7 separate regions of the Homo sapiens genome follow, and regions 1, 2, 3, 5, 6 and 7 are each linked to region 4. Evidence: promoter capture Hi-C in 16 types of primary human blood cells and fetal thymus (Javierre and others, 2016). All regions are on one chromosome and are shown on one strand. Each heading gives the region's core, a stretch centred on a gene start or on the middle of the fragment in contact. The rest is flanking DNA. Distances are from core to core; before and after follow the strand shown.

Region 1 (3,003 bases), core at 301-2,800, 410 kb before region 4:
GACACCTCAGGCTACAAGTATATATAATGGGAGAAAGAATGCAAGGGGCAAACTATCTGAGAGGGGTGAATTTAGGAAATCAGGCAAAGATCAGAAGCCATAGAATTTAAAAAATGAAGTCTAAAATTTATTCCCAAGGTCCTATGGTACAGTTAAAGAAAAGGCAAAGAGAGTGGTAGAGCTAAAGTCTAGCCTTAGAATAAGAAAATGATGTTGGAGGTAAAGAACAAGGAGAGAAGGTTGCAATGGCACAAATGAAAAATGACTAGAGAATGAACCAGAATTACAGCTATCTCAAAGGAGAGAAAGGAGTCTCAGATGAATGACAACCATTATAAGGAGTAGATGCCTATGATCATTATAGAAAATTCCTCTATGATTCAAACATTAATAAAATGGAGATGATACATAAAACAGTGGTAATCTTTAGATGAAAGTTCAATGTTGGGAGCAAATGAAAAGGCAAGAAAACAAAGATAATCTTAGACGACTCCAGTGATCAAAGATCACATGGCTTCCACAGGAGATCCCTTTATAAGACTCACATTTCAAATGGTGATCAGGTTCTAAAAAAGATTTCTTAGAATTTTAGTTAATACTGCCTGGCTTGCAATTTGTCTAGAGATCAGGCTAAACTTTTTGTCCATCTACTTTTGGACACAGAAGCAGCCCACAGTGGTTCATTATCAAGCTGGTCTCTTTTAAGGGCTGTTGGATTTAATACAACTAAAAATAATTACAAACTTCCTTGGTTTTCTGTTTGTAAAATCAGCACTTTCCCCTTTTATTTGAAGCCAAGGTCATATTATTCCAACTAAAGTCCAACAGTTCAAAAGGAATCATAAAGGCTGATCAAGTCACTACAGTGAGTGCTCTCTGAAAATCAGACCTTGCAGGTAAGGTCCTTGTGGATCTGTGTTCATAGATCTCTATCTGCCATACAGACGGATGACTCCTGAATTAAACATAGGCACTCTCTTCTTCAGTAACCTTTTCTAAGAGCAGGCAGACTACTGTTACAGCTAATCAGGGCTGACTAGAAAATAAACAAGTCGAGGTGAATACACCTTTGGGCAAAGAGAAATTAAAATGTATAGCTTTCTTCTGAAATTAAAGTAGTATTTAAAGAAATTTGAATGCTTGTATACTAAATATAATCATTTGGTTTGCTATCACATCAGGAAAGTTACTTTAAAATACATTTGAATATATAGTTCTTTAGATGATCTTACATTTTATCTTGCCTATTCTAATGTATTAAGGTAGGTAAGAAAAGCTACCATATTCCCAATTTACAGATGAAGTAACTGAGACATAGAAATTAATAACTTATTCAAAGGGCCTATACAAGGCCTAAACAGTACCAGAAAGCAGAACTGTTTGGATCCCAGCTCAGTATTTTTTCCAACTGAACCACATCACTCATTTTGTGACTTGAATCACAAGCACTAAACAAGCTACTAATTAAGGAATGCAGTACTTACATATGCTACAACATGGATGAAACTCACAAACATTATCCTAAGTGAAAGACGCCACACACAAAAGACCGCATATTGTATGGTTCTATTTGTATAAAATGTCCAGGATAGGTAAGTCTATAGAGATAGAAAGTAGGTTAAGGATTGTTGGAAAGGGGCAGGAGTGTAAGGGGAGTGGCTGTTGATGGCCACAAAGTTTCTTTTTGGTGTGAAAGAAATCTCCCAAAATTCGACTTTGCTGATGGTCACACAACTCTGCAAATATCCTAAAAACCACTGAATTGTACACTTAAAGTGGGTGAATTTTGTAATTTGTGAATTTTATCTCTGTAAAGCTGTTTTAAAAGATTCAATTAGGATGTTAAAATGTTATATGCAAAATCATTTTTTAAAGTATTTGTGTTATTTACTATACTGAACAGCTTACTAAAATTAAAAAGTCAAAAGTTTTTTCACTTGGAATAAATTTGAAAGTTGGTAAAATAAATTAAGGAAGGATATTAAAAATAAGCTGAATGCTGAAGTGACTTATTTGAACTCTGTCTTCCAATATTTGTGACTGCTGACAAAAAGTAAAGGACATTTTATTCTAGCAGGTGGAAGGAAAATCATTTAAGTAGACTGACTGTGGGTCACAATGACCTCTGAGAGGATTATATCAATTGAGATAAATTGTGCATTTTGGAAGTTATTAGTGTGAGCTAAACATAAAATTACAGAACTTAGGTAAATAAATCTTCAAAAGGAAACAAAAAATTTGGTCTTCAAATTTTTACTTCATATGTTGGCTTTTCTATGAAAAAATCAAATTTTGGCATTAAGAGTTAGGTTGCTATTGATAGCCCATTATTTACTCCTAAACCACTATTAAACTATATGCACCAGAATTAACACATGTATTTAAATTTTTGAGCATCTCTATTTCAAGACAGAAATAAAGGGAAAAAATGTGGGGAAAACAAAGTTAAAAGTTTTTCATGTAGAAAAGTAATGATCATAAAAACCGTATGCTTGGGCCAGGCATGGTGGCTCACGCCTGTAATCCCAGTACTTTGAGAGGCCTAGGAGGGCAGATCACCTGAAGTCAGGAGTTTGAGACCAGCCTGGCCAACATGGTGAAACCCCGTCTCTACTAAAAATACAAAAATTAGCCAGGCTTGGTGGCGCATGTCTGTAATCCCAGCTACTCCAGAGGCTGAGGCACGAGAATCACTTGAATCCAGGAGGTGGAGGTTGCAGTGAGCCGAGATCGCGCCACTGCACTCCAGTCTGGGCAACAGAGTGAGACTCCATCTCAAAACAAAACCAACCAACCAACCAAACAAAAATCATATACTTGAATCAAAGCTGAAACTTTTCAGTGGTGATTTACAAGGAAACAAGTAACAAAATGTGAAAAATATGAGCATTTATTTAACTTTGGAAACAAGAAAATGCCATCAGAGTTAGAACCAGAATCATAGCATATCAGAGCCCAAAGGGCCTTCCAAGGTCTTAGTTCTATCCATTCATTGCCTAGGTG
Region 2 (2,973 bases), core at 357-2,856, 490 kb before region 4:
CAGTGCTTTTTAAACTTCAGTGAGTATACGAATCACCTAAGGATCTTATTAAAAATCAGATTCTAGTCACTAAGTGACTAGATAGGGCCGTCTGAGGGCCCTATTGTCTACAGTAAAATTACAGGTTTGGACCAGGTGATGCATCAGGCCCTTCAGAACTATAAAATTATTAATTTTTAAGATAACTCTTATTTTTATGTTAGCTGCTGTCTTCTTTATTTTCCTTCATAAATGGTTATTGAAAATAAAAAGAAGTTTTATTGTGCTGTGTTACTCCCAAAGCTTCCCATTTAGTTGCACTTTGCATTCTTTAAGCCAAGATAGTTATTTCTTTTTAAGGTCAATTTCCAGTCTTTCTCCATAATTCTTAGGACATTTATTGAGATTAGTATTTTCCTTTAACTTTAAGGAGATTTTTAAAATGAATACAGAGACTGTGGGGTTATTTGTTGCCTATATAAAAATGTAGTTTCTATTATTTCACATGTTTCAGAGAAGCTGTAATATTCTTAGATAGGGGCTGATCCTTTAATTGGAGCCAGTCTCATAAAACGCACTCCTGCTAAGATGGCAATGGCTGGTAGTGGTATTAAATAGCATTTAACAGGGAACAAATCCTTTCCCTTCTCTGAATAGAATTTGAATCAGTTGCCTCTTGTTTATCCCCAATATCAATATCTTTACTCAGAATTTCATTAACTCTTGCCTGAACTACTGTATTAGTCCACCAACTAGTATCCCATCTCCAGCCTTTCCATCTCATAATTACTCCAATACACCCCTGCTAGAGCAATGCTTCCAAATTTCAACAATGCACACCATGTCACTTCTAGTTGAAAGCCTGCAGTGGGTCCTTATTCAACACCTTCATGCAATGAGGTCAACCTACTTTTTCAGGTTCCCACTACTTCCCTTCACCAAATGTCTTCTACATTTCCCATAAACAGAATTTGTGACTCTTTTTATACATTTCTTCTACCTAATATACCTTCTTCCATAAATCCTATCTATTCTTCAAGATCCATTGTAAATGCCAATTCTTGCTTAAAGTATTCCCTGATTCTTCTAGCAAAAAGGTGAATTCACATAACACCCTGCTGTCAATTCTCTTTTTACCCAATATCCTTTGCTGTATATTCTAATTTCTATATATGCTCTCTCCCTGCTCTCTACTGTATAATTCCTGGGAATCTGTATGATGCTTTAATTTTCTTTGTAGCTCTCACAGTACTTTTTCAGTTCCTCGTGTCTGTTGAAGAAATGAGTGAATGAATAATACAGATTCAGTATTAATCTATGGATCAAGATGTTCAGAAACTGCAGAAGTTTAAAATTATTTATTAATCTATTATTATTTTGGGCAAATTACTTAAGTAATTTTGCCCAAATTACTTAAGTAATTTTGCCCAAATTACTTAATTTTGGGCAAATTACTTACTGTGACTCAGTATTCTCACATAGTTTCTTATGGAGTAAGGGATGTTTAGTAAATTTTTTTTAACTAATGAATATAAAGCACTGTGCTATATAAATGTTGGAAGAGAGGGATATCTTTTGACTTACTAGATCATGGTAAATATTGTCATAGAAAAGTGTATCCCAGATTCATCTATTATGTTCTTAAGAAAATTCTATATGTAAAATTCAGAATATACAAAGATGATATAATTTATATTTAATATTCTAAAAATGCAACACAATAGTATTGGCTTCACAACGTGGTATTAAACAGGGTTAATATTTTCAAGCAGAAAAGTCAAATTCTTTCTCAAAATACCATTGATACCACCTTAGCAATGATACCATAATTGTCTGTCATGATTTGGGGGACCATTAAAGGTGTCCTTTGCAAGAGATGGTCTACATTATTTTCCTAAAACGTGAAAATAAAAAAGTTTAATAATCTATAGTCATGATAGCATTTGTGAATTTTGAACACATACCAAATTGATTTCCTGTGCTCCATAAGCCGCAACGCAATGGTTAAACATTTTCAGCTGTAGTGCGTTACCTCTTTTAGGATACTAGGTTGATCTATTAGTGCAATAGTGTAAGAGTCATAAGAATTTAAAAAGATAAAACTTGAGAAAGCTAGCTCCATAGTCAAATAAATTAGCAATAATTGATCTTAAATATGACAAAAACTTTCAGACTAACAGAACATTAAAATATCTTAGTCTTACATAATTTTGTGTTAATGTATCTTCCAGTCAATTCCCTTACCAGAAAATGTGACTTTTAAGTAGTTCTGACCAACTACAAATATAGTAATTTAATTCAATAAGACTTTTAAAAATCGTTTGAGAATTCTATGTTAACTTAGAAGAATTCTCCATCTTTGTCCATGAATACCAGTTTAAGAAGAAAACCAGAGGGTTATACTTCTCTAAGGAATATTTTCTTTGATATCTTTTCTCTTAACACCTGTAAATCCTTCCATGGCAAGTCATGGCAAACATCAATCCATGGAGAAATTAAAAGTATTAGACTAAATATCCATTATATGCATTTGGAGCCTTATTTTTTCATCCTACTCAATTACTTTCCTAAGATTCCTTATAACTGTCTCATGCCAGGAACTTATTTATCAGTGAGAAAATCAAGAAAAGTTTGAATGTGTTCCTAACCTGTAGGTTACCTACTATAACGCTATTTTTTTTGTTGTTAAAGATGTCTTTCTTTAAAGGCAACATAGCTTAGTCGTCGCCATTCAAATGGTCTAGGTTGAAATAAATGTTAATATGACATTTCTGTTTATTCATGGAATTACTTCTCTGATATATTTGTGGAGTATAATACAACCTCATTGCAGATCATGATTCTATTCTCAGAGTGATTATTTACCGAAGTACTAATAAGGCAAAAATGTAATAGCAAACTGAGAAATCAGGTTTTGCAGTAATAGTCTACATCACCATTAGAAAAGCTTATGTGTGACTTTATAAATCTAAATATGTTCATAACTTAGAAAAA
Region 3 (2,805 bases), core at 210-2,709, 410 kb after region 4:
AAGATGTGTCAGAGCACAAGCTCATCATAATTTAGAGCCTTGGCTATTTCTTAGGGTTAATGATCAATTAAACTGTGCTTTTCTCCCCTCAAACTGATTTAGGGGCAACATTCTCCTAAGTCCCATTTCTTACTAGGGTGTGATATGGTAGCATACACCCTTGTCCAAGGCAGTATCTGGCATCTCCAAGGTAACAGAGCCTTCCCCACCAAGGCATCATGAAGAGTCGCCCAAAACCTATGGGGAGTATGGAATCCACATAGGTGTCTCAGAAGAGGCTGGGGGATGACTGCTCCCCTCAAGCAGGTGGGCTCCAAGCTCCCACCTTTAGCTGAGGCAGCTTTGCTTTCACCTGTCTGAAGAACGTGTTCCTCTACTTCATAATCCTTTGAAAAATGCTTTCCTAGAACATACCTTCATCTGAACATTGGCACACAGCACAGATCTGTAATTGATATTTAAACTAGACTTTTGAGAGAGAAAGGCATACCCTCTAAAGGTTTATGTAACAATTCATGGTAATACCACCCATCCTATGACAAAGACATGGAGGCAGACTTTTTTAAAAGTGAAATGGTCCATCTTCCCCTTCGCCCGATCTGTGTTCACATCACCATCACTACCACCACTGAGGGTCGAGGAAACACGGAGAAGAGAGAAAACGTGGGGGGACAGAGAAGCAGGCTCCTTCCGGTGACAGATTCAGAAAGAAACAGCAGCATCTCCTCCTCATCCATCCCTCCTCATTCCATGAGCTACCATGAAAAGGTGAGCTCCCCTTCTAAAGCAGGATGTGGTAGGCTGTCCTATCCTCCTTATAAATTGAGAAGAGTTCATTTCTTTTCTGCACAACCCTTTTATTACATAGAGTCTGTGTAAAATACTTTGCTCTCCAGAGAGGAGCCATATCATTGCAAATTGCTTTATGAATATAATTAGCTGATAAATTAGAGCAGCAGCTACTACACTGAAATAGACCTTCAGATTTTGGAAAAATGAAATCACTGGGGACATCTTGTACATGAAAAACAATCTTATGCTGTGCAGAAGTTTTGATATGAGCTAGGACAACTGTTCTTACAATTGCTAAATTGTTTTTTCAGTTTTCAGTACCTTGTCCTTCTGAATAGCTTTTACTCAGCTTCTGGGCTGTTTAAAACTCCAGGCGTACGTAAAGGAAGCACTTGTGCAGGAGCAATAATTGCTCTGAATAGGAAAGATTCTTCCCATCACAGAGCAACTTATAAAGATTACACATCCAACCCTATACCAAGAAAACATTTCTCCTTTTTGTTAATCTTTCATAAAATAAATAATGATATTGGAAGTTTAGTGTACAACCAGTAATTTATCTTGGGTGACACTGATTTAAAAAATAAATAAATAAATAAATAAATAAATAAATAAATAAAGTGCTGTCATTTCAAGGAGAACTTGAACTACTTTATTAGCTATTAGTACAGACCACATGATTCAAGTTTAGAAGAAAATAAGTCTTGAATCCCAGGCAGCATTAAAAAAAAAAATTCTACTCTTAACTTATAAATTCTCTTTCCCTTAAGAAGAATGGAGTCCCCACTCTTCATTTTGACCTGCCAAATCACCTCCCTACTCAGAGCCAAAGATACTTCTTCTGGAGCACATGGTTAGGAGTTTCCACAGATGAACTTGACTGTCTTTTCTGTAACCCTCTGAGAAAAGAGAACGCTTAAAGCTAAAAAAAAAAAAAAAAAAAAAAAAAAAACAAGAATGCAACCCAAGAAGAGGGCTCACTGCATTTTTCCTTCTTTTTCTTACAGGGTTTTGTCTTGCTATTTCAGTCCTTATTTCTTTAATAACAACCTTTGACATCAGTGCAGTGCCCTGGTTGGATGACTTTGCAATCAGCAGTACCTGTATGCCATGCCCGTCTCTGCTCTGGTGGTTTCCTGCAACGAAATTCCATGAACACGTAGAAACTTTTCCACATATTTCTGTTCGGCTGCTCCACTGGGCCTCACAGGTTTGCAGGCCGCCTGAGGCTGAGTCTTGGTCACTGCTAGGTGCCATCTACATTTTAGAGCCGATTCACTGGATTTTGGCAGACCCAGCTTGGGGCTCGGGATGTCTGCACAGGCAGGTTTATACAGATGCATGTTTCAAAAACCCAAGGAAGCAAAGCTAATTGCACGGTGCTTAACTTTAAGACTCACTGTATCTTGCTGTGAATACCTTGGGTTATCTGGCTTCAGTATGTCCCTCAAAAGGTTTAGCTTGTTTTCTTTAGATCTCTCTTATCATTTTTGTAGGCGAGCAGGCTCCTAAGTTCCCGACAGAGCTGTTGGTTGTGTGTCCCTGCCCAGGCCTGTGCATAAAGGAGGCTTTTGGTGGCCAATCACTTTTCTCATCCCTTTAAAGTACTCAGAGTCAAACATAAGCAACTATGTACTGGCCCTGGGGAAAAAAAATATGGGAACTTTTTCCCATGTCTTTCTATTTAGGTAAAAGGAAATATTTTGGTGGGATCTGGGCCAATCTGTTTTTATAAGGACCATAAAGCCTTAGGGATGATTCATGAGTATGTAATGAGACTTCTCTAAATTATTAAATATTTTGTAATCAAATAATTTTTTATACTAGAGGCATGATTCATTTGGGTGAAAGGTCCATTAACCTCTTTCAGATGTTGCTGTCAAATGATAGACAAATATCAACAAGTGGTTGTAAAAGGCAAAGGGTTCACACAAATATGGCTAATTATTTTTGACAAATATGAAGAGCAAATCTGTGGAGGAAGAATAGCTTTTCCATCAAATGGTGCTGGAG
Region 4 (2,869 bases), core at 300-2,799:
GTTTATAAATAGGCAGAAGAAAATCTAGTTATAGAGACAGATCCAAAAAGTTTTATTTATGAATTGGTCATAGATGGAGAAGGAAAAAAATAATTAGTGTTGAAACCCACTATTTTAACCAGAACAACAAATGAGTTTAAAAGAATGCAACTTAGTGAGATAGGAAAAACTGGGGGAGGAGTATGTGTAAGAGAAAATAATAATTTCTTCTTCTATCACTACCATGTAATAAAATAAAGAGCATTTTTAACATCAAAAAAGACATAAACCCAGATATTTTTAAATGAATACTTTTGATTTTCTGAAAAATTCACTAGATGGTCTTTTTTTCTTTTTCATTTTGTGGTGAATTAATGAAAACTTCTGGCATTAAGGAACACTTGCGGTAGATAATGGAAGGATTTATATTTCAGGAAAACTCACTCTGGTACCTGTATAGAGAATAGACTGGAAAAGATTGAAGACAAAAGCCCAATTAGGACTAGTAATAGGAAGCTGTGGAGGTAGATTACAATTTGGATACTGTGAGGAAGAAAGATATCTACCAAACGGTTAATAAGGAGGCTGGAGGTTGAGGAAATTGTGCCTAATGCACTAGAGTGTTCTCAGTAATCAAAAGTAGCATTTGCTGGGAGTGATGTGGTTGAATTTTTTTTTGAAGAAAAAATGATAATGTGTTGAGTTAAAAATGGAATCTAGCTGTTTTAATAGACATACTTAATCCTTCTGAGCTTCAGAGAGGGAGTCTTGCCTAGCCAACCTGTTCTTAGTATTATGTTTTATTTAGCATGGCTTTGGAAGCCACAAAACTCTATAGGTCTAGTTGAAATAAAATAAAATAGTAGTAACTTGTATCAGACATATATTAAATATTGCCTTCATCAATGAGATCATGAGTTTCTTAAAAGCAAGAGTCCCATTTTCTTCTTCCTACAGAGGTGGCCTATTGTTTAGTGAAAAGAGCCCACGCCTTGGAGACCCACACCGCAGGTCTACGACCCTCAGGCTCTTCAGCTGCAATGGCGGTAATGATGCGCACGTCATAAGATTCTTCAAGGTATTTAATGAAATAAAGGATGTGTAAAGGAGAAGGGATTTTACATGAGTTAGCTATACCTTTCTCTTCTTTCTTCTTCAACGTACTCAGTCCTGGGTACGCACAGAGGGCACTAATGGCGTGGGGCCAGAAGAGCTTTTAATTTTGGAATTCTGAAGAACTGAGAACTCGTGAGTCTGTCAGCAGCTCTGAAGTGGAATATCAATAAAGTTTTGTTAATTTTTTTTAAAGCACCGACTAAACTACAAATCCCTTCTCTCTCCTCCAGGTGGGTGGGTCACGTGGCTTGTCAGGAATCCGGAAGTCTGGCCCGCTCGCCCAATCACGCCCGGAAGCCTATCTAGTGGCGCCAAGCTGGCCAATCCTGGGGACGCTTGCTCTTCGCCAAACCGGGTCCCGCCTCCGCGCGCCGCGCTGACGGGTCGTTAGCGGATACGGCGGCCGCAGGGGCGGAGTCAAGGGCCTTTGCCCGCCTTGGCGGCCGGCTCTACGTTCCCTGTTCTCGCCTGCAGCTCCGCCATGGCTCCTAAAGGCAGCTCCAAACAGCAGTCTGAGGAGGACCTGCTCCTGCAGGATTTCAGCCGCAATCTCTCGGCCAAGTCCTCCGCGCTCTTCTTCGGAAACGCGTTCATCGTGTCTGCCATCCCCATCTGTGAGTGCTGGGAGCGAGGCGGGTTAGGCAGGCCGCCGGCTAGTCGGGCTGGGCGGGGACGTGGCAGGACCCGGCGAGCAGGGAAGGCGTGGGTGCCGGCCGGGGGTCGGCAATCTCTCCAGCTCCCCTGAGCTCGGGGAGGCACGGAGCCTCTTCTTTGGGCACAGTGTTGTCGCTTGGGATTGTCCTGTGCAGCACTCGGGGAGGTCACTTGTTAAAAGTACGCACGTTCCCGAGCTCCACCCCAGGAGAAGGTGGTTAACTAGTTCTGGGGTGGCGGCCCCGAATCTCTATTTAAACAGACAAACTCAAGCATACTGCCTCTGCCCTTTTCTATACAACTGTTGCTTGCCGTTACGAAATTTTAAACTTATTACTTATTTTGCATAAATTAGTTAGGTGAGAAACCCATGAAGTGACCCACTGAATTATAAGTGCATCTTTACGTGAGCTACTTCACACCATTGCATAATTTTCCTGGTTTTTGCAAAAAGAGAGAGGTTGAAGTGCCAGGGGTTAGGGATCTACCTTATTTATACTTTTTAATAATCCTACTGGACCAATTCTAGAATTCTCACTTGGTTGGGAAACTGCAGACTTGGACAAGGTCGTTTTTAGTAGAGCTCAAGTTTCCAGAACTCCTGTCTTTTGCTGCACTGTTGTTGGGCATTTAAAACTAAATGTATTTTTCTCTTTTGTCCTTATACAACCCAGCGTGCCATTAACGTGATGTGAAGCCATATGATGGCTCACTAATTGGACATAGCACTGCTTGGAGTTCTGATAACAGCCACGTCAGCAAGGAAACTATGGTTTGGGGCTGCACGTGGCATTTTGGAATGGCCTGTGTTTCGCATGCTAGTACCCTGATGAATGAAATTTGAAGTCTGACTTGTGATTACGTTGAGCCAGAGTTTGTTCTCATTTTAGAAGTTGAAATCTCATCTGGACTAGTAATAGGAAGGTGATGTTTTTCAAATGTTCTGAACTGGAAAGCTTGAGACTATACTGTTACTGGTTATCTCGCTTCTGAAGATCCTCAGATACTATTGGATTGCATAACTAATAACCTGGTATTTTACCAGGCTTAGCTATAATTAATTTCGCAGGCTTTTGTTGCGGGGTTGTAATGTTTTGCTTCTTTTTGTACCCTTCCCCCT
Region 5 (3,171 bases), core at 264-2,763, 440 kb before region 4:
CAGGTATGTTTAATCATGAGGTCCTGCCATATATTTGAAAACAGGAGACTACAAACCTCTTGAAATAATGTGCTGGGTTTTGTGTATACTTTTCTGAAGTGAGTGTATTGTCTGTCTGTTCTCATGCTGCTATAAAGAACTGCCCGAGACTGGGTAATTTATAAAGGAAAGAGGTTTAATTGACTCACAGTTCCGCATTGCTTGGGAGGCCTCAGGAAACTTACAATCATGGAGTAAGGCAAAGGAGAAGCAGACACCTTCTTCACAGGGCGGCAGGATGGAGTGAGTGCCGGGCAAAGGGGGAAAAGCCCCTTATAAAACCATCAGATCTCGTGAGAACTCACTCACTATCACGAGAATGGCATGGGAGTAACTGCCCCCATGATTCAATCACCACCACTGGGTCCCTCCCATGACACGTGGGGATTATGGGAACTACAATTCAAGATGAAATTTGGGTGGGGACACAGCCAAACCATATCAGTGAGGGTTCATAGCTTTTGACTAAAAAGAAAAAGATGAAGGAGAGAGGAGAGGCCAAAAGAGAAGTTAATGTAATGCAGGTGAGGATGAGGGAAGTGGATAAAACCCTTCCCTGTAGCTTAAAAATTATGCTTTATGGGGAAATGGGGACAATTTAGTAAACTGCATTTAAGATACATAAGTATCTTAATACTTAATGCAGAGCCAAACAGATGCAGATGTATATTATTTATATCTCAGAATAATTTACACATAAGCAACTTGCACCTAACTTTAATTACGATTAAGCTTTTCCTCTAACAACATTCTTCATTGTTCCCATCATGTTATGGGCAAATTGATCACAATAAATCTCTTTCTGTATTTTTTCTTGGAGTTTACCAAGATAAAGATAATACAGCATCTAAGAATGCAAAGGGTATGAGAGCTATTATAAACAGTGTGTGTTCTGGCTGTATGGTTGTAGGCCACATGCTGGTGTAAGCGAATTTCTCCAAGTGCTATATGTAGGCAGTCTTCAAGCTTAAACACATATGTCCTTATAAAATATATTTGTACATTTGTTATAGAGAATTTAAGACATATTTTACTATAGAAATAGTTTTCCCTAAGGATGGAATTAGGTGCCCCTGTCAGCCAACAGGACACTTTTTAACCCACAATATGCCTGAAGGAGTGTTGCACATTCACAGTTCTGGGCAGAGTTCTGACCTTGGCCACCGAGACCTTGTGTCCCAGTAGGATGGGAGCTGAGGGCTGTCTTTACAAGAATTTTAAAAATGGCCACACTTTTCTCTGACATCATCCTTATGCCTTGCTGCATCCCTCTCCATCCATAAAGGAAACCCCTTTCACCAGTCCCAGTGTGTCCGTGACCAAGCTGGCCAGACTGTCTTTACCTGCAGAATCCCATGATTCGAGAAGACCTACTTCTTTTCCTTTCACTGAAGATTCTTCCCTACCTTTCACTTCCTCAGCTGAGTGTGGGGAAGATAGCAATGCCCAAATAAATAGATTTGTACTAATCAATGAACTATTTGCTAGTTACTAATTCCCTTATTTCTCCAAATTCAGAAGTTCTGCTAGTTTTTTTCTAGGGTCACCTCTGGCTTTTTACATCGTTTTCTTCTCTTCTGAAATACACAGCTTCTAAACTGCACAATTTGTGACCTCAGTAAGGGCTCTGCTCTCCTGAGGGGTCAGGGAGGAAGGCTGGTGTGTATCTGACACTGCTTGGATTTATGAAAGCACACAAAGTCAGTGGGAGTGAATGGGGCTCTGGCCTTTGGTGAGCACATCTGGTAGCCTGGTTGGTTGTAATACTTCCACAGCAGTGGTTTGGTACTTTGCCAAGTGGCAGATTCCTAGGCCCTACCCAGACCTACTGAACCAGAATCTCCTAGGGTATTATCAAGCATCTCTATATTAAAAGTGTTTCCTGAGCCCAGCTGCTTCTTTTGGAGGGATGTTCACACCTCCAACTGCTTAAGGAAATTTCTTATTTAAAAGTCCCATTGGTGCTTCAAATCAAAGCTTCAAGAGCAAACTTGCTAAGCTGAGACAGGGTCAGTTTACTGAAGGAAAAAAGTGGAAAGAGGAAAGTCAAGTTCAATTGTGAATTTTAAGGAATGTCTGCAATCAGGTGATCACAGGAGGGAAGGGGAAAGAACCAAAACAGAGCTAGAAAAGAGACCGAATAACAGGTTGCCCTGGAGCCAAAAGACCACCGTTTCAAGACAAGTTAGGACAGTAATGTCAAAAGCTTCTGAAGGCCATTTGTTCTTCAGAATATCTTTTTTTTTTTTTTTTAAATGAAGTTTTGCTCTTGTTGCCCAGGCTGGAGTGCAATGGTGCAGTCTCGGCTCACTGCAACCTCCGCCTCCCAGGTTCAGACGATTCTCCTGCCTCAGCCTCCCAAGTAGCTGGGATTACAGGCACCCGCCACCACACTCAGCTAATTTTTGTATTTTTAGAAGAGACGGGGTTTCACTATGTTGGCCAGGCTGTTCGCGAACCACTGACCTTAGATGATCCATCCACCTTGGCCTCCCAGAGTGCTGGAATCACAGGCATGAACCACCATGCCCGAATGAGAAGATCTTTTTAACCCTTAGGCTCACCATGGAGTAAGCCATGGCTATTTTACTACTACCCACTTGACATAGACACTTAACCCAACAGAAACTGACAGGGTGTAGGAGCTGGAGATCCTCATATTTCTCATATCTCTTAAGCTTCACTACCTATAAAATCCTTTATCAAAACAGTAAATGTCCTGACTTGCTCCCATTGCCAATACCTTCTCCGTCCAGCATCCAGAATGATTTTTCTACAGTGTCACTCTTCTGCTTAAATACCTTCAATGGTTTCTCTTCATTGCACTGAAAACAGCACCCAAACTCCCAAAGGCCTGCAAGGCCCTGCATGATGTGACCCTGCCTGCATCACTCACACTTACTATGCCACTAGCCACGCTACCCTGCTGTCCTTTCCCAGAACTCACCAACTTGTCTTTTGCTTGTAAAAGTTCCTCCCTGGCTCTTGGCCTGGTAACTTCCACTTGTCTTCCTTTAGGAAATGGGCAGAGTATCATCTTCGAAGTCACTTTTATGACCACCCTAGCCAAAGCAGGCACCTCTTCTATCAATTTTTACTACTTCATATCCATTATCACAATTTATAATTATT
Region 6 (2,768 bases), core at 171-2,670, 470 kb before region 4:
TCTGTTTGTCCTAGTTTATAAGTTACTCCTCATTTTCTATATTGCCATTTCTTTTGTGAATGAATAGTTAGAAAACCTGCTAGTCTAGTTGCCTCAATCTTTCTGTCCTTTATCCTGCTTCCCTCCTCTAGAGATTCACTACTGCTGTCTCATTTGAGGCAAATCAGCATCACTTCTCTCTTTCTCAGGGTTTCTCTAGCAGAGCTAAGTCCACGTGTGCTCTCCCTCCTTACTCCTGCCTGAACTAGGGGTGCGGCTTCCTTCATTGGGGGGACTGAGCTGCTGTGTAACAACAAGAGAACTTAATCATCTTTTTGTCTTAATTATAATACTAAAAGAAAATTGAGTCCCTGGAGATTATAACTGCTAAGTCTGTGGTCACTGTGAAATACAGAAGCAGAATAATAAGAACTGGGTTTCCCAAAAGAGGAAACATCATATCATAGAGATTCGAATTTGAATCTTGGCTCCACCAAACTGTCTGACCTTATGGAAATTATTCAACCTTCTTCAGTCTCTTCCTCATTTGTAACATGTAAATAATTTCTACTTATAGAGTTGTTTTAGGCATTATTCTTGATCTAGTATTCTATCTACTCCATATTTTATCTTATATTTATAACTTCTTTGTAATAGGTTCACTTCATAATTACATAATTACAATGATTATGTAAACTTTCTATTTTGGCTGATAATTTAAATATAGCAAGACCATGGCATATTTAATTGTTAATAATCGATATTGCTGTTAGCACTTTCCTTTTATGCCTTTACTGATGCCAAACCAACAAAGATATTACTTCTCACCAACATTCAGAATCTTCCTCCATTTACCTTTATTTGCTATACTGTCATCAAAGGGATCAAATATTGTAATGTGATATGATATTGATGATTAGAGAACAGATGAATTGTTTCAGTATTTCTAAACTGCTCAGTAGTTCAGACATAAGACTTTCAAAAATGTTTTCAAATCAAAATAGGTCTACTCCAGTTTGAATGAAAACCATCACTGAAATAATCATACATACATAAGAAAGAAAACCGACGCATGCATATTACCTTATAAGTTTACATTGATAGGAAGTAAAAACCTAAGGTAAAATTGTGTTTAAAAGACATAGTCTAATTTTTTTAAATGTATGCAGAAAGTTCTCTAAAAGTTTATTTGGCAACAATTTAACGTTAAAACAAATAAGACATAAACATATAAAGATTCCTACTCTTAGAGGCTTAAAATAGTTATTTGCAAGAAAGAACTAGGTGCTAAGGAAACTTTTAGAGATTATGTAGTTCACAGGAAAGCCAGGTCTGGAGAGGCTAAGTGACTGCCTAAAGTTAAGGACAGAGCACCAGGATGTGATTAAGGACAGAGCACCAGGATGTGATTTAGGTCAGACTAACATTCCAGGACTCTTTCCATGAAACTAAGCTGCCTTTCACGTTTTTGTTTGTTTGTTGAAAGAACATGTGCTCTTTGATTAATTGCAAAGTTACCACTATCTGCTTCCTACCTCTTCCTGGGACTGGTTAAATTGCTCTATCAGTTGTGTTTGAGCCAGCATTACTCTTTTCAGTTCATCCGACTTCTGTTCCATTTCCTTCCTCAAGTTTTCTGAAACTGAATCATTACTGTCAATTTCCTTCTTCAAGCGAGATTCAAATTCTGCAACCAAATTTTTAAGATTTTCAATTTCTTTTTCCTTTGAATTAGATTCTTCAGTGTACCGAATATGGGATTTGTGAAGTTTTTCTTTAAGAGTGGTCACTTCCTGCCTTAGATCTCTTGTAGCGCCTGTGATTAAGTCAGATATCTGTAAGATAAATCTCATATTAGCTTGTAGGCGATAGTTTCTAGGTAACCACAGAATTCTTATGGTTTTTAAGAGGTTTATTTTCATTAATCAGTGTACTCACTTGATCAGATGAAACCAAACCCATGATGTGCAGGCCTTCAAGATTTTCTTTTTAAAAGACTAAAACATTTATTTTTCTACTTAAAACAGTATCACATTAATCACTTGGGCACTTTTGGAAATATATAAATTTCTGTGACTATATTAAGCTACAAAGGATAGCACAAGTCTTTTTTTTTGAGACAGGGTCTTGCTCTGTTGCCAAGGCTGGAGCACAGTGGTGCAGTGGTGTAATCATGGCTCTCAGCAGCCTTGACCTCCTGCGCTCAAACGATCCTACCAATTCAGCCTCTCCAGTAGCTGGATCACAGACTCATGCCACCACCCCTGGCTAATTTTTTATTTTTTGTAGAGATGGTGTCTCTCTGTGTTACCATGGCTGGTCTTAAACTCCTGGGCTCAAGCAATCCTCCTGCCTCAGCCTCCCAAAGTGCTGGGATTACAGCTGTGAGCCACTGTGCCCAGCCTCAGCTCAAGTCTTGACAAGTAGATCAGGGGACTGTCTGGACCTAACTAGGTTGGCTTTGGGATCTCAAAATGCCTGATTTTGGGGGAATGCAAGGAGGAGAGCACTAGAGTTATACTTTACCCTAACTGTACCAATAAATTTTTCTTTAACATAATTTTTTTTTCTTTTTTGTATATAATGGCTGGAGGAACTCCAGATACTATGCCTTCCAGAACAGTACTGCCCAACAGAGCTTTCTGTGGTGTTAGAGATATTCTATGCTATCCAATATGGTAGTCACTAGCCACATGTGACTACTGACGGTGCTGGTAAATGTTTAACAACTGACTCTCAAATTTAAAAAAAAAAAAGCAAGATTTGTATGTAATTTCCATGGTGTAAAT
Region 7 (3,158 bases), core at 103-2,602, 430 kb before region 4:
AAAATGGGCATCATCTCCATTTTTTAATTGTTAAGAAGGTCTTGTACGTGTAGGAAACATTAGTTTTATAAACTGATAAAACATCATCAGCATTTCTGCAATTATACAGTAACTTCCTACAGATAATTAGTTTGATGGACTTTAGTGGTGTATTTCTCCCTGCATCTCCAGTCTACCCTGACTCTCACCATTTCTCAGCACAAGTTATGTTAAAATTATAATAAACAAAAATACCACAAAGCATGTGTTAATATTAAATGGGCAGGCTCCATGCACAGTCATTCATTGCTTTACAACAGGGGTACATTCCAAGAAATGTGTCATTACGCAATTTTGTCATTGTGTGAACATCCTTGAGTGTACACAAACCAAGATGGAATAACCTACTACACACGTAGGCTATACGATATAGCCTATTGTTCCTAGGCTACAAACCTATACAGAATGCTAATGTATTGAATAGTGTAGGTAATTGTAACACAATGGTAAGTATTTGCATATCTAAACATATCTGACCATAGAAAAGGTACAGTAAATATACGGTATTATAATCTTATAGGACCATCTTTGTATACATGGTCTGTCACTGACCAAAATGTCATTATGCAGAACATGAATATACACAGAATTCTGTGCCAACTTATTCTGTAAAATATCAATTCATGTCACTACCAGTAAGTTTATTCCTTTTCTTCACTATGCTCATTTCTATGTTAAGCTTCTTTCCTAACTTTCTAAGACTCCACTATATATGCTAAGTCTTGGTATGCCCACAAATTCCCTCTTAGCTTAGTTGTGTGCTAACACCACCTCCCTATGCCTAGACTGTGCCCTCTTCACTCCAAGAAGCAATCATCACACAGTAGCTGGGGCCTGACTAGACTGCTTTCCACAAGAGATATCCACATGGCCAAACCCCTCCTTGATGTTATTAGAGGGACAGCAACAACGATTTTTTTTTTTCTAGCAACCATCACCTTGTTTCTTTTCATGATTTAAAACAATCTCCCAAAAAGTTACTTCCTGGGCCTAGGGGGTCTTCTAAGGACCCCCGTCCACCAATTCCTTCAACCCCAGCCATCTACACAGACACCTGAACTACTATACTTACTGTACTATTAACCACAGTGTTATAAAGTATGAATATTTTATTTTCCTTTTCAGAAACAAACTATTTTGTTACAAATAATCCAAGTATACATTAATTTGATAGGGTATTTTTGGTATTTGTTCCTTCTTGTGTTCAGTATTTTATTAAACACATTGATTTTAGGAGTAGTTCATGGTCAACACAAACATTTGGTTGCTAAGCATTCTAAATATTTATGTTTTTATGAGGTTCATCCTCCTAAAATATAGGAACTGAAAATCATATATATCATAAAGTAAAAGAATCTACTTACTTTTCAAAGATTATATACATACTATTTTAGTATTATAATTATAGATATACTATGTTTATGCTATAATTTTTGAAATTTCTGAAATAAAAGTAATTTTTACTTATTTATTCATTTTGAGACAGGGTCTCACTCTGTCGCCCAGGCTGGAGTGTAGTGGCATGATCATGGTTCACTGTAGCTTCAACTTTCTAGGCTTAGGTGATCTTCCCAGTTCAGCCTCCCGAGTAGCTGGGACTACAGGAGTGTGCCAACACGCATGGATAATTTTTGTATTTTTTTGTGGAGACAAAGTTTCTCCGTGTTGCCCAGGCTGAAAATTAATTTTTAAAAGAAATAGTGTTCTTGATTTTACATCATTTTCTTATCACGTGTTTTCCAATATTTCTTTCTCACTTATATCAAGCATAAGTACTTCAGCATTTCAAAGCTACTCAACTCTCTCTTTGAAGCTAAAATTAGTAATTTTGAGATACAAGTTCAATATTGTTTCTTGTGGAGAGATAATAAAGAAACAAAGATAAGAAAAAAGTTCAAAGACTATTTCACATTAAGTTACTGCATTTGAACTATCAGGGAAAGCTTTAATATATGGATAAGTAAGTTTCTTATTGAGAGAAAGAAATCCTCCATGTATTTAAAAATATTTACAGGTTCTTCAATATATAATCTAGGCCAGTAAAGTGGGCAAGAAAAGCAGCAGTAAACTATTACCCACACCAGTAAATCACTGCCAAAAGAATCACAGAGAACACACCAGGGTCTTTATAATTCTTGTCATTTCTTCCTAATTCTTGCCATTTTGTAACACATCTACAGAGCACTGTTATAAGTTGTTTAATATTCTCCATCTTACATAAGCATTTCTTTATAGTTGTCCATCTCTGTCACCGCCTTCTGAAGTTTTAATCCAAGTGCCTCTACTAGACATTGTAAATCTGAAATGACACAATGTATTTCATCTGATTAGTACATTTTAAGTGTCCAGATATTTTCATAGAGTAAACCATATTCTTTTGTTGCTAGTCAGCTCCTGAAGAATAAGGCAGCTGCTTATTCCACTTTGCCTGTATGTCCATATGCAACTTATCATTGCCTACTCAGCCCTCCCTATCCTAACACCCCACAGACTTAATGGGTTTTGACAGGCCCAATTTGTTGGCCTCTTTCTGCCCCCACCACCATGCTGATTTTCAAACAGCTAATAGGCTAAATTTTACTAATGTTTTCAAAGGAAATGTATGTAGCTGACAAACATAAGAATTTCTGATCACGTGTCTTGTTTCTAAAACACATGATTGCCTGAGCTCACTTTTGTGGTCTGGAACTGTGAAGCATGGCTGAGTCTTCCTGCTAGAACTAAAACAGACAAATCATGTTCCAGGCTCATAGTAAAGAACGTGTTAACTCTGGGTAGCATCTAAAAGGCATTTTAGTGACTTTCAAAACCAAGAGAATACAAGCAGGAAACTGGCTTCCATAGAGTCTTTAACTGGAGAATGTAAGCAGTATTTGAGGATTATTATTCAAGCAGCCCTGTCTAACAAGTGTGTGAATGCAGAACTGAAACCATAGCAGAAAGAACAAATGGCTTGAATTATCTAAGTCCTTCCATTGTCCTGTGTGTGGAAACTGTGATCTGAACCCCAGCCCCAGTGACAGCCCTTGCTGGTACGCTTTTTGAGAATAAGTTATAATGGAAAACAAACTGATAGACTGGTTGGTGTCTCCAGAAAAAAAATGTTCAAAACACTGGAG

Evidence for each region. The method cuts DNA at HindIII sites, captures the fragments that hold promoters and counts their contacts. A CHiCAGO score of 5 or more calls a contact.
Region 1: a contact is called between a fragment that was not itself captured here and the fragment with the promoter of SSR3 in region 4, in 1 of 17 cell types (total CD8 T cells). The highest score is 5.1, in total CD8 T cells.
Region 2: a fragment that was not itself captured here is called in contact with the fragment with the promoter of SSR3 in region 4 in 8 of 17 cell types (total B cells, non-activated CD4 T cells, activated CD4 T cells and 5 more); the score reaches 8.4 in total B cells.
Region 3: a fragment that was not itself captured here is called in contact with the fragment with the promoter of SSR3 in region 4 in 6 of 17 cell types (naive CD8 T cells, naive CD4 T cells, total CD4 T cells and 3 more); the score reaches 11.1 in naive CD8 T cells.
Region 5: a contact is called between a fragment that was not itself captured here and the fragment with the promoter of SSR3 in region 4, in 4 of 17 cell types (naive B cells, non-activated CD4 T cells, naive CD4 T cells and 1 more). The highest score is 6.4, in naive B cells.
Region 6: a fragment that was not itself captured here is called in contact with the fragment with the promoter of SSR3 in region 4 in 4 of 17 cell types (total B cells, naive B cells, non-activated CD4 T cells and 1 more); the score reaches 8.0 in total B cells.
Region 7: a fragment that was not itself captured here is called in contact with the fragment with the promoter of SSR3 in region 4 in 6 of 17 cell types (total B cells, naive B cells, non-activated CD4 T cells and 3 more); the score reaches 10.5 in total B cells.

The regions. Positions count from the first base shown.
Region 1 is chr3:156,960,078-156,963,080 of GRCh38, reverse strand. The region is part of intron 6 of LEKR1 (leucine, glutamate and lysine rich 1); the gene reads right to left. Among named protein-coding and RNA genes, the nearest start is that of LINC02029, 120 kb to the left of the region's middle. The HindIII fragment of the contact is 4,848 bases long and covers 1-3,003 here.
Region 2 is chr3:157,048,181-157,051,153 of GRCh38, reverse strand. No RefSeq gene overlaps it. Among named protein-coding and RNA genes, the nearest start is that of LINC02029, 32 kb to the left of the region's middle. The HindIII fragment of the contact is 2,644 bases long and covers 285-2,928 here.
Region 3 is chr3:156,142,509-156,145,313 of GRCh38, reverse strand. The region is part of intron 1 of KCNAB1 (potassium voltage-gated channel subfamily A regulatory beta subunit 1); the gene reads right to left. Among named protein-coding and RNA genes, the nearest start is that of KCNAB1, 23 kb to the right of the region's middle. The HindIII fragment of the contact is 8,066 bases long and covers 1-2,805 here.
Region 4 is chr3:156,553,797-156,556,665 of GRCh38, reverse strand. SSR3 (signal sequence receptor subunit 3) reads left to right here and starts at 1,549. Exons shown (of 5, transcript NM_007107.5): 1 at 1,549-1,709. The coding sequence starts at 1,577. RefSeq lists an enhancer at 1,611-1,690. The HindIII fragment of the contact is 5,682 bases long and covers 1-2,707 here.
Region 5 is chr3:156,996,186-156,999,356 of GRCh38, reverse strand. All of the region lies in intron 9 of LEKR1 (leucine, glutamate and lysine rich 1), which reads right to left. Among named protein-coding and RNA genes, the nearest start is that of LINC02029, 84 kb to the left of the region's middle. The HindIII fragment of the contact is 1,011 bases long and covers 1,008-2,018 here.
Region 6 is chr3:157,027,149-157,029,916 of GRCh38, reverse strand. LEKR1 (leucine, glutamate and lysine rich 1) reads right to left here. Exons shown (of 13, transcript NM_001004316.3): 12 at 1,515-1,814. Among named protein-coding and RNA genes, the nearest start is that of LINC02029, 53 kb to the left of the region's middle. The HindIII fragment of the contact is 3,184 bases long and covers 1-2,768 here.
Region 7 is chr3:156,978,374-156,981,531 of GRCh38, reverse strand. LEKR1 (leucine, glutamate and lysine rich 1) reads right to left here. Exons shown (of 13, transcript NM_001004316.3): 7 at 2,257-2,338. Among named protein-coding and RNA genes, the nearest start is that of LINC02029, 100 kb to the left of the region's middle. RefSeq lists an enhancer at 2,758-2,887. The HindIII fragment of the contact is 1,264 bases long and covers 721-1,984 here.